Linked DNA regions of Homo sapiens: all the other regions are linked to region 1. The links are contacts of gene promoters, found by promoter capture Hi-C in blood cells and fetal thymus (Javierre and others, 2016). All regions are on one chromosome and are shown on one strand. Each heading gives the region's core, a stretch centred on a gene start or on the middle of the fragment in contact. The rest is flanking DNA. Distances are from core to core; before and after follow the strand shown. Region 1 holds the start of ZNF74 (zinc finger protein 74). Region 2 overlaps ZDHHC8 (zDHHC palmitoyltransferase 8). Region 3 has its middle 25 kb from the start of CCDC188.

The links. Contacts are between HindIII fragments. The CHiCAGO score rates a contact against its expected background, and 5 or more counts as called.
Region 2: a contact is called between a fragment that was not itself captured here and the fragment with the promoter of ZNF74 in region 1, in 1 of 17 cell types (erythroblasts). The highest score is 5.0, in erythroblasts.
Region 3: a contact is called between a fragment that was not itself captured here and the fragment with the promoter of ZNF74 in region 1, in 1 of 17 cell types (M0 macrophages). The highest score is 6.7, in M0 macrophages.

Annotation. Positions count from the first base shown.
Region 1 is chr22:20,392,743-20,395,566 of GRCh38, forward strand. It overlaps ZNF74 (zinc finger protein 74), which reads left to right and starts at 1,409. Exons shown (of 5, transcript NM_003426.4): 1 at 1,409-1,920; 2 at 2,591-2,676. The coding sequence starts at 1,887. RefSeq lists enhancers at 519-1,508, 910-979, 1,450-1,589. The HindIII fragment of the contact is 14,387 bases long and covers 1-2,824 here.
Region 2 is chr22:20,138,401-20,141,224 of GRCh38, forward strand. It overlaps ZDHHC8 (zDHHC palmitoyltransferase 8), which reads left to right. Exons shown (of 11, transcript NM_013373.4): 2 at 794-915; 3 at 1,078-1,235; 4 at 1,320-1,492; 5 at 1,715-1,817; 6 at 2,217-2,308; 7 at 2,471-2,612; 8 at 2,817-2,824. Among named protein-coding and RNA genes, the nearest start is that of ZDHHC8, 8.0 kb to the left of the region's middle. The HindIII fragment of the contact is 2,442 bases long and covers 127-2,568 here.
Region 3 is chr22:20,174,284-20,177,107 of GRCh38, forward strand. No RefSeq gene overlaps it. Among named protein-coding and RNA genes, the nearest start is that of CCDC188, 25 kb to the left of the region's middle. RefSeq lists an enhancer at 2,508-2,824. The HindIII fragment of the contact is 2,001 bases long and covers 425-2,425 here.

The sequences.
Region 1 (2,824 bases), core at 159-2,658:
CACACCTCTCGGCAAGCTGAGGGAGCCGGCTCCGGCCGCAGCCAGCCCAGGAAGGGGCTCCCACAGTGCAGCGGTGGGCTGAAGGGCTCCTCAAGCGCGGCCAGAGTGGGCGCCAAGGCCGACTAGGCGCCGAGAGCGAGCAAGGGCTGTGAGGACTGCCAGCACGCTGTCCCCTCTCACTGGGTTGCTATTAAAAATGGGCGCTGAATATAAAAATTAACCGGGCGTGGTGGTGCATGTCTGTAAGTCCCAGCTACTCCGGAGGCTGAGGTGGGAGAATAGTTTGAGCCCGAGAGACTGAGGCTACGGTGAGCCGTGATTGTGCAACTGCACTCCAGCCTGGGCGACAGAGTGAGACCCAGTCTCAAAACAAAATCAAACACGGGCGCTGCCCTGGGCAGGGGAGGTCTGGGCACAGCTGTGCTGATGTGGGCAGTGGACAGGTGTCACGTGAGAGCCTGTGGCCAAGCCTAAGCTGCGGTTAAGGTGGGAGGCTGAAGGGTTTGGAGTGTGCACCACCCCGGACCACCTCTCAGTAGGAATGTGGCAATGCACTTCGGTGCTGGATTCCTACTTCTGGCTGTGTGATTTGCGACACGTTACCCCACGCACCTGTACCACAACTTCCTCATCTCCCAAATGGGATGACAGTAGTTAGCAAACCTCCCTGGACTGCTGTGAGCATTCTGCCAGAAAAATGTACTCCAAGCTCTTGAAGTAGGCCTGGCGTTTGGTTGGTGCTCAGTACATATTCAATGTTTCTGTCGCTGGCGTCATCACTGTGTTCATGGCAGAGCTCTGTGCCGCCAGGACTGGGCCGCCACCCAGACCTTCCTTTCCCGCCCCAGGGGTGAACTGTGGACAGGACCCTCTGGGGGGACTAGGCCAAGGCTCTCCCACCTCTGGGGACCCGCGCCCATGGGCCTCAGATATGTGGCTCGAGAAGGGGGAGTGGGGGCAGGGCCCCTGGAAAACCCCTCGAGGCCAGACCCACCACTCCCAATATCCGTAAGACCAGGGGCTTGAGTCTTTCCTGCAGACAGATGTGGGCAGGAACCCACCCGACTCCCAGCTACGTGGGGACGTGGACGAACTAACAGGACAAATTCTAGTTCCTGGACACCGCCCTCCCAGTATCCTCGCAATTAGACACCCATGCAGCGGCACTACACTGATCCGCACACGGAGATACACAGCGACATCCGCCCGCAAGAGCATGGTGGGTGCCGGAGCTCCCGGCTGTGGGCCCAGGAACTACATTTCCTAGAAGGATGTGCTAGATACTCGTTCGCGTCGGGACGCAAGCACCGGCCCGAACTCGCTCTAGGAAATGGAGTCTGACGCCTGCGCGGCGCAAACGCTCCCGGGAGGTGTAGTTTGCGCCTATTTCGCGCAGGCGCGCTTTCCCGCAGCGGCCGCCTGCTGCTCTTTGTGGCAGTCGCAGTCCTTTTGTGGGAGTCCGGTCTGTCCACTTGCCGGTCCCTCAGACCGTCGGCGGTCTCTGTCCGCTTCGGGACCTGTCCGCTGGTCGCTCCGCGTCCGATGGCTCCTGGCCGCGGAACCTTAGGCCTGGCCCTGGTCTCCGAGCGCGGGTTCGCCGGGAGGAGCGTGTGGCGGGGGTGTGCCGGGGCGTGAGTGCGCCGAGCATGGGGCTGAGCCTGGTGTGGGGAGTGGGTATCTGCGGAGCCGGCCTGAACCCCACCTCAGCCGGGCGCGGGGAGGGGGCTCCGTGCGTGTGATCGTGCAGCTGTGAGCGCGTGGCCGCCCCGCGGGGCTCCGCTGCAGGCCCCTCAGCCCCAGGAGCAGTACTCGCTCTTCAGGGCCTGCCCTGGATCCTGGAGGCTACACAGCTGCCCACTCCTCCTGGGGAGGCTGCCGTGGAGGCCATGGAGATCCCTGCCCCGGAGCCCGAGAAGACAGGTACAGCTTCACTCTTGTAGTCAGTATGTCTGTGGATTTGCACTTGAGGATATTGACACTCAGAGAGATCAGGCCAGTTTCCCAGAAGCATCCAGCATCTTTTTTTTTTTTTTTAAATGGAATCTCACTCTGTCACCCAGGCGGGAGTGGTGCAATGGCTTGATCTCCGCTCACTGCAACCTCTGCTTCCCGGGTTCAAACTATTCTCCCGCCTCAACCTCCCAAGTAGTTGGGATTGCAGGCGCGCGCCACCACGCCCGGCTAATGTTTGTATTTTTAGTAGAGACGGGGTTTTGCCATGTTTCCCAGGCTGGTCTTAAGCTCAAGCGATCCGCCCGCCTCGGCCTCCCAAAGTGCTGGGATTACAGGCGTGAGCCATCGCTCCTGGCCTCCTGCTTCTTTCTTCCCCGCGCCCAATCATTTGTTCCCACTCAGACGTGCTTGATTGGGGGTAGCAGCTCTTTTCGTCATGAATTGGAGTGTCTGAGACACAGGCAGATTATTCCTCGATGCTGTTTCTGTTGGTGCTAGCTACTGGGGCTCGTTCCCCACCTGGCCTTGCTGGCAGGTTCTGCCTCCTCTCTGATTCTCACTTGTGCCACGACAGGTGGGCTTTAAGCTCAGCCGTGAGCCTGGTAGCCGTGACCTTGACTCATTTCTCCTTCGCCAGCTCTTTCCTCTCAGGATCCTGCTCTTTCCCTGAAAGAGAATCTCGAGGATATATCGGGTTGGGGTCTTCCCGAAGCCAGGTCCAAGGTGAGTGGCTGTGTGTTCTTCCTTCTTTATGAAGAGGGTTGGCACATTCCCTCCCCAGCCCTGGATCGTCAGCCTTCCACAGACCTTCACCCGGGTACCTGCTGGCCAGTCCTCAGGAAGCTCTGGGCAGTGGGAACAGCTCCAAGTG
Region 2 (2,824 bases), core at 98-2,597, 250 kb before region 1:
ACCGGCAAGTCTCTTCAGAGGGGACTCGGGCCAGGCCCGTTAAGGGCTGAGGAAGGCGCCTTTCAGGAAGGTGTGTGAGGGCACACCTTATAGGGAAGCTGCAGAGGGCAGCCTGGAGTCCTGGAAAGCTTCCCGGAAGAGGGGGTGGCCTTGGAGCCAAGTGCTGATGGCTGGGAAGATGGGAAGTGGTGGGGGGTGTTGTGCATTCTAGAGTCCCTAAGTGTTCTACTTTGTCATCTGGGGAGGGAGGTGACAAACTAAAAAGAAGGGGCTGTCTGGATGGGGATGTGCCTGACTGGGAAGAGTAGGGGAGACATGCCCCATGCACTTACTGACCAAGGACTGGGGCTCCCCACACCCCAGAATCTGCCTGGTGAGAGGCCCCACTGGGCCAGGGACAGGCCTGGATGAGGCATCGTGGCGCATTTTCCATCTGGGGCTCCCACCTCCAGCCTGTGTACCGCCCCCGCCCCCTACCCCGCCCCAGTCATGGAGCCTAGGTCGCTGGAATGGGGTGACCTTAGGTCTGTGGGCCTCTCTGAGACGGCTGCCCTGAGAGGTTGCCGGGTCAGGGCACGGGTAGCCCACATGCTGTACTGATACGCACAGCCTCTGGCCGTTACTCGAAGGAGCGATGTGGCTGAGGTTTCTTGGCAGGGCTGTGGCAGCCTCCCCACTGCCTCTGAGCTCTGAGGGTGACCTTGCAGGCCCAGCCTGCCGCACCACATAGCTCTGCGCCTGCATCCGCTCTGCACCCCCAGACTCCACTCTCTGCCCCCACTGTCTACTGCAGGTGCCCGTGGTTGACACGAGCTGTGTCCCCAGCTGTTCCCGTCTACAATGGCATCATCTTCCTCTTTGTCCTGGCCAACTTCAGCATGGCCACTTTCATGGACCCTGGTGTTTTCCCCCGAGGTAGGGCCCTGTGCTGCGGCAGCTCCTCTCACTTTCACTAGAGTGTGAGTGGCTAACTTGAGACAGCCTTAGGGATTCCTGGTGGGTGGGCTGGACTTGGGGGAGGGATTCACCTGCCAGGAAAGTCAACTTCCTGCTCACTGCCTGGCTCCTGGTCTGTAGCGGATGAGGATGAGGACAAGGAGGACGACTTCCGGGCTCCGCTGTACAAGAACGTGGATGTGCGAGGTATCCAGGTCCGCATGAAGTGGTGTGCCACGTGCCACTTCTACCGCCCGCCGCGCTGCTCCCACTGCAGCGTCTGTGACAACTGTGTAGAGGTGACCGCCCTGCTGCCCCGCGCTCCCCCAGCCCTGTGCCACATCCCTGCCTGCCATGTGCCCTGATGCACTGCTCCCGCCCAGGACTTTGACCACCACTGCCCCTGGGTCAACAACTGCATCGGGCGTCGAAACTATCGCTACTTCTTCCTGTTCCTGCTGTCACTCAGTGCACACATGGTGGGCGTCGTGGCCTTCGGCCTGGTCTACGTGCTGAACCACGCTGAGGGGCTGGGAGCCGCGCACACCACCATCACGTATCCTTGGTTCCTGTGGGCCTCATTGCAGAGGCGATGTGGACCGGGGACACGTTCACCAGGGAGATTGAGCCTCAGAAGGCTTGGTTCCTGCCCAGGGATCCCCAGTGGGCAGGTGGCCGTCCCTAGGTTGGGAGGAGGTTTGTCCACAGGCACCTGCTCTGTGCTGCTGCGATGGGGTCTGCGGTGTCCTGGCCTGCACCGTTGGCCTTAACGGGCTAGCATGGCTGTCATGTGTGTGGCCGGCCTCTTCTTCATCCCTGTCATTGGCCTCACTGGCTTCCATGTGGTGCTGGTCACTCGGGGGCGCACCACCAACGAGCAGGTGCAGACCCCATGGGGGATGGGTGGCCCCAAAGGGCCGAGAGAGTTGGGGCTGCATGGGGACAGGGTGGGGGCTGGGGCACCCTTGCCTGAGGTAGCTTGTGCAGCTGTGTTGAGACGAGGCTCCAACTCTGAGACCCCCACGTGGGGCTACGCCTGCCCCGTCCCCTGCGCACATCCTGCCTGTGGACACTGTGGCCACCAGTGACCCAGAAATCCCACAGCTCCCTGCAAGTTCAGGCTGGGTAACCTATGTGAGGGGCAGCCCTGGGCTGATCCCACCTAAGCCACTTCCCGCAAGTATCAGCTTCTAAGGAACCCCAGCTCCCTTGCCCAGCCCCCTGCCCACCCTGGCCTGGACCTTGGGAGGCCAGGCTGGCTGAGGGTCCTGCATCCACAGGTGACTGGGAAGTTCCGCGGGGGTGTGAACCCTTTCACCCGAGGCTGCTGTGGGAATGTGGAGCACGTGCTGTGTAGCCCCCTGGCGCCCCGGTGAGGCCCGGCCTGGGCAGGGTGGAGGGGGGCCTCTGCTGGGTGTGGGGCGGGCAGCCTTAGACCCTCTTGGTCCGTTTGGCTCTTGCCAGGTATGGCCAGCCCTGCCCTTGTGTGTTTGTGGCAGGTGGGCTGGCTACTGACCCCTGTGCCCTGGTGCAGGTACGTGGTGGAGCCACCCCGGCTGCCGCTCGCGGTGAGTTTGAAGCCGCCTTTCCTTAGGCCTGAACTCCTGGACCGAGCTGCACCGCTCAAGGTCAAGCTTAGTGACAACGGGCTGAAGGCTGGCCTGGGCCGTAGCAAGGTGGGCGCCTGGGCTTAGGGATGGGCTGGCAGTCAGGCCCTTGGATGGGGAAACAGGCAGGTTGGTGGGGGCCTAGAAGAGGTGGATGGGGCAGACAGAGCCGTAGACAGATTCTTGGGAGGGGGCTAGGTCCCAGGCTGAATCCCTAGTGAAGCCCTGCCCCTCATCCAAGCCCCACACACCACTGACCCCGCTCCCTCCCAGTCCAAGGG
Region 3 (2,824 bases), core at 175-2,674, 220 kb before region 1:
TGGCACCTCACCTGGGCAGAGGGTGGGAGGAGCAGCGCCCTTCCTTCTGTGCAGGGAGTCTGATCAGGGTTCTGTCTCACTGTGGGACAGTGGGGGCCGGGGAAGAGCGGCAGGTACCAAGTGCAGACAGCAGATGTAGATGCATGCGGGGGTCCGGGCTGGGGCCAAGAACACAGCCCTGGAGTCAGGGACACCGGCTTCATGTCCTCACTCTGCCATTCAAGAGCTGGGGGACCTCGGGCAGGTGGTGTAGGAACAGGGAGGAGTCTGCCTGCAGCACGCAGAGGAGGGCTGTGCTGGTCAGGGGGTGTTTTGGGGAGAGGACCTCAAAGGGAGGTTGACTTTGGGAAAGGGGTCAGAGTACAGAAAAAGTGGGTCCAAATCCTGCTTCAGCACTGAGACCCTGCCTCGGCAGGGGTCTCCAAGCTTGGCTCCACCCCCTGAGGGGCCAGTTACTGCATACCTCGCCCACCCAGGAGCTGGGGGCCCTGGTCCTGTTTCCCAGGGAGCTGTTGGCACTTGTGGGCTCCTGGCTGGGGTCCAGGTGGGCTCTGCTCCTCTGCCCTGCCCAGCGCTTTGTACTGAGCCCATCCTGCAGAGACTCAACGGGGCCAAACGCACATTCCTTGACCTTCTGTGAGTCTGTCAGTCTTCATCCCTCCCTGGACCTAGGAAGGCCTGGACAGCTTTGACCATTGGTGTTGGGTGGACATGGCGCTGCGCTGCACCCCAGGCCCTCAGAGCCCAGCTGTTCTGCTTTCTGCTTTTGGTCCTGAGCTGCCTTGAAGGAATCTGACCAGCAGGGAGAGCCCACGGAGCGGGAGGGCCTGTGGGGCTCAGCCCTGCAGCCGGTCTGCCGAGGCCAGGCCTGGGGGCACAGCTGGGGCTGAGTACACTGAATGCCCCCTCGATGCCATGCACAGCAGAAGAGCTGCCCACACCGCCCTGCTGGGCCCTGCCCGGGCTCCAGACCCACAGACCAAGCACACAAGAGACTGGGCTGCTTTGTCATGCAGCAGCAGGTAGCCGGACACATGTTTCCCCATTCCCCTGCCATCCTCTGAAATCCTGTGGGGAGAAAGCATGTGAGGTCCAGTGGGGGTTGGGGTGAGGGTCTGACTGGGGGCTTTCTAACCCACGTCTGAGTCCCATCCGGCGCCAGTGCCACAGTGGCGGGTGACTGGTGCTGCTCACACTGGCAAGCTCCTACCTAGACTTTGGAGCCCAACTCCACAAGGCCCCTGAACTACCCCTGTAGGCACCGCAGCCCCCTTGCCTTCCTCTGCTACGACATCAACCACTCTGATGGTATTTGTGGTTTGATGTGTTTAAGTAAAAGGCTTGTTGCAGAGTTTAATTGACCCCATATGTCTGCCTGAGGAGGCCGTGAGCTGCAGAGGGCAGGTGTGAGCTGGGCTCTTTCCTCAGTCCCCATGTCTTGCTGGGTACTCACAGGGCACACACGAGCACGTGCGGCAGGGGCAGGGGCCAGCGGGGGATGGGGAGGCTTGGCGCCCACGGCCCCGCTGCCCCATGTTTCCACTGCAGCCGAGGAGAAAACGAGGACTTTACGGCTGTCACAAACATTTCATCTTGTGCATTTTACAGTCCACGACTGCTGTGAACACTGGGGCTCCTGTCGGAGCTAGAAGATTCATAAAATGCATGTGAATTATTTTATTTTATTTTATTGTTTTGAGATGGAGTCTCACTCTGTCACCCAGGCTGGAGTGCAGTGGCGCGATCTTGGCTCACTGTAACCTCCACCTCCTGGGTTCAAGCAATTCTCCTGCCTCAGCCTCCCAAGTAGCTGGGACTATAGGCGTGCGCCACCACGCCTGGCTAATTTTTTTGTATTTTTAGTAGAGACGGGGTTTCGCCATGTTAGCCAGACTGGTCTCAAACTCCTGACCTCAAGTGATCCTCCCACCTCGGCCTCCCAAAATGCTGGGATCACAGGTGTGAGCCACTGCGCCTGGCCAAATGCATGTGAATTTTTATGTTCAATTATTCCAGGTTCCCTGCTCGGGGCCCATGGGCTTCCCCATGTACAACCCACCGGTAGGTCCCCGCCCAGTCCATGCTCCTCAAAGGCCAGCCTCACACCCATCCCACGTCCTCTTGGCTGGTAAACACTCTCCCCCTTCTTCCTTCTCCCTCCACATCTCAACTGCTGGAAGGGAAGAGCTCCTCAGTCTACTTGGAGTCCCTCCTGCACAAGAGGATCCAGGGTGGTCCAGGAGGGCCAAACCCACCTCTTTGGGTGCACCCCTGGGCAGTGGATTGGGGATCCAGGGCTTGTGGGGGTATGCACCCACCAGGGCAGGTCCCTCAGGCTCACTCTCCCTGCGCCTCAGTTTCCTCTCCTGAAAAATGGGCTTGTGACTAAATGTTGCAGGGAGCTGCTGAGAAAACGCCTGCTGAAAGCTTGGCAGGAGGTCATTGTGACCAGGGATGGGGCTGGGTGCTTCGGTCAGGCCAGGGCTGGAGGCAGGGGCTCACACTGGGGTCAGCAGTGCAGGGGCGTGGCTGGCGTGGCAGGCGCATGGGGATTGGCTCATCAGTTGCGGCCTCACGTCCCTTCGTTATGGCGCCTGCAGAAGATGTTCTCTGATTAGTCTGCTGAATTATGAATTAGGTTCCGGGTCCCTGTGCAGCTGTTCCCGGCTTGTCATCCCCACCACTTTATTTCCCCATCTGTTTATAAAACCAGGAGCGCCGTCCTGCAATAAACACTTCAAACGCTTTTTTTAGGGGCTAATTAATTGTGTTGCATTTCTTCGACACAGCATGCAGGCCGGACCTGCCCCGAATTCCCAATGCG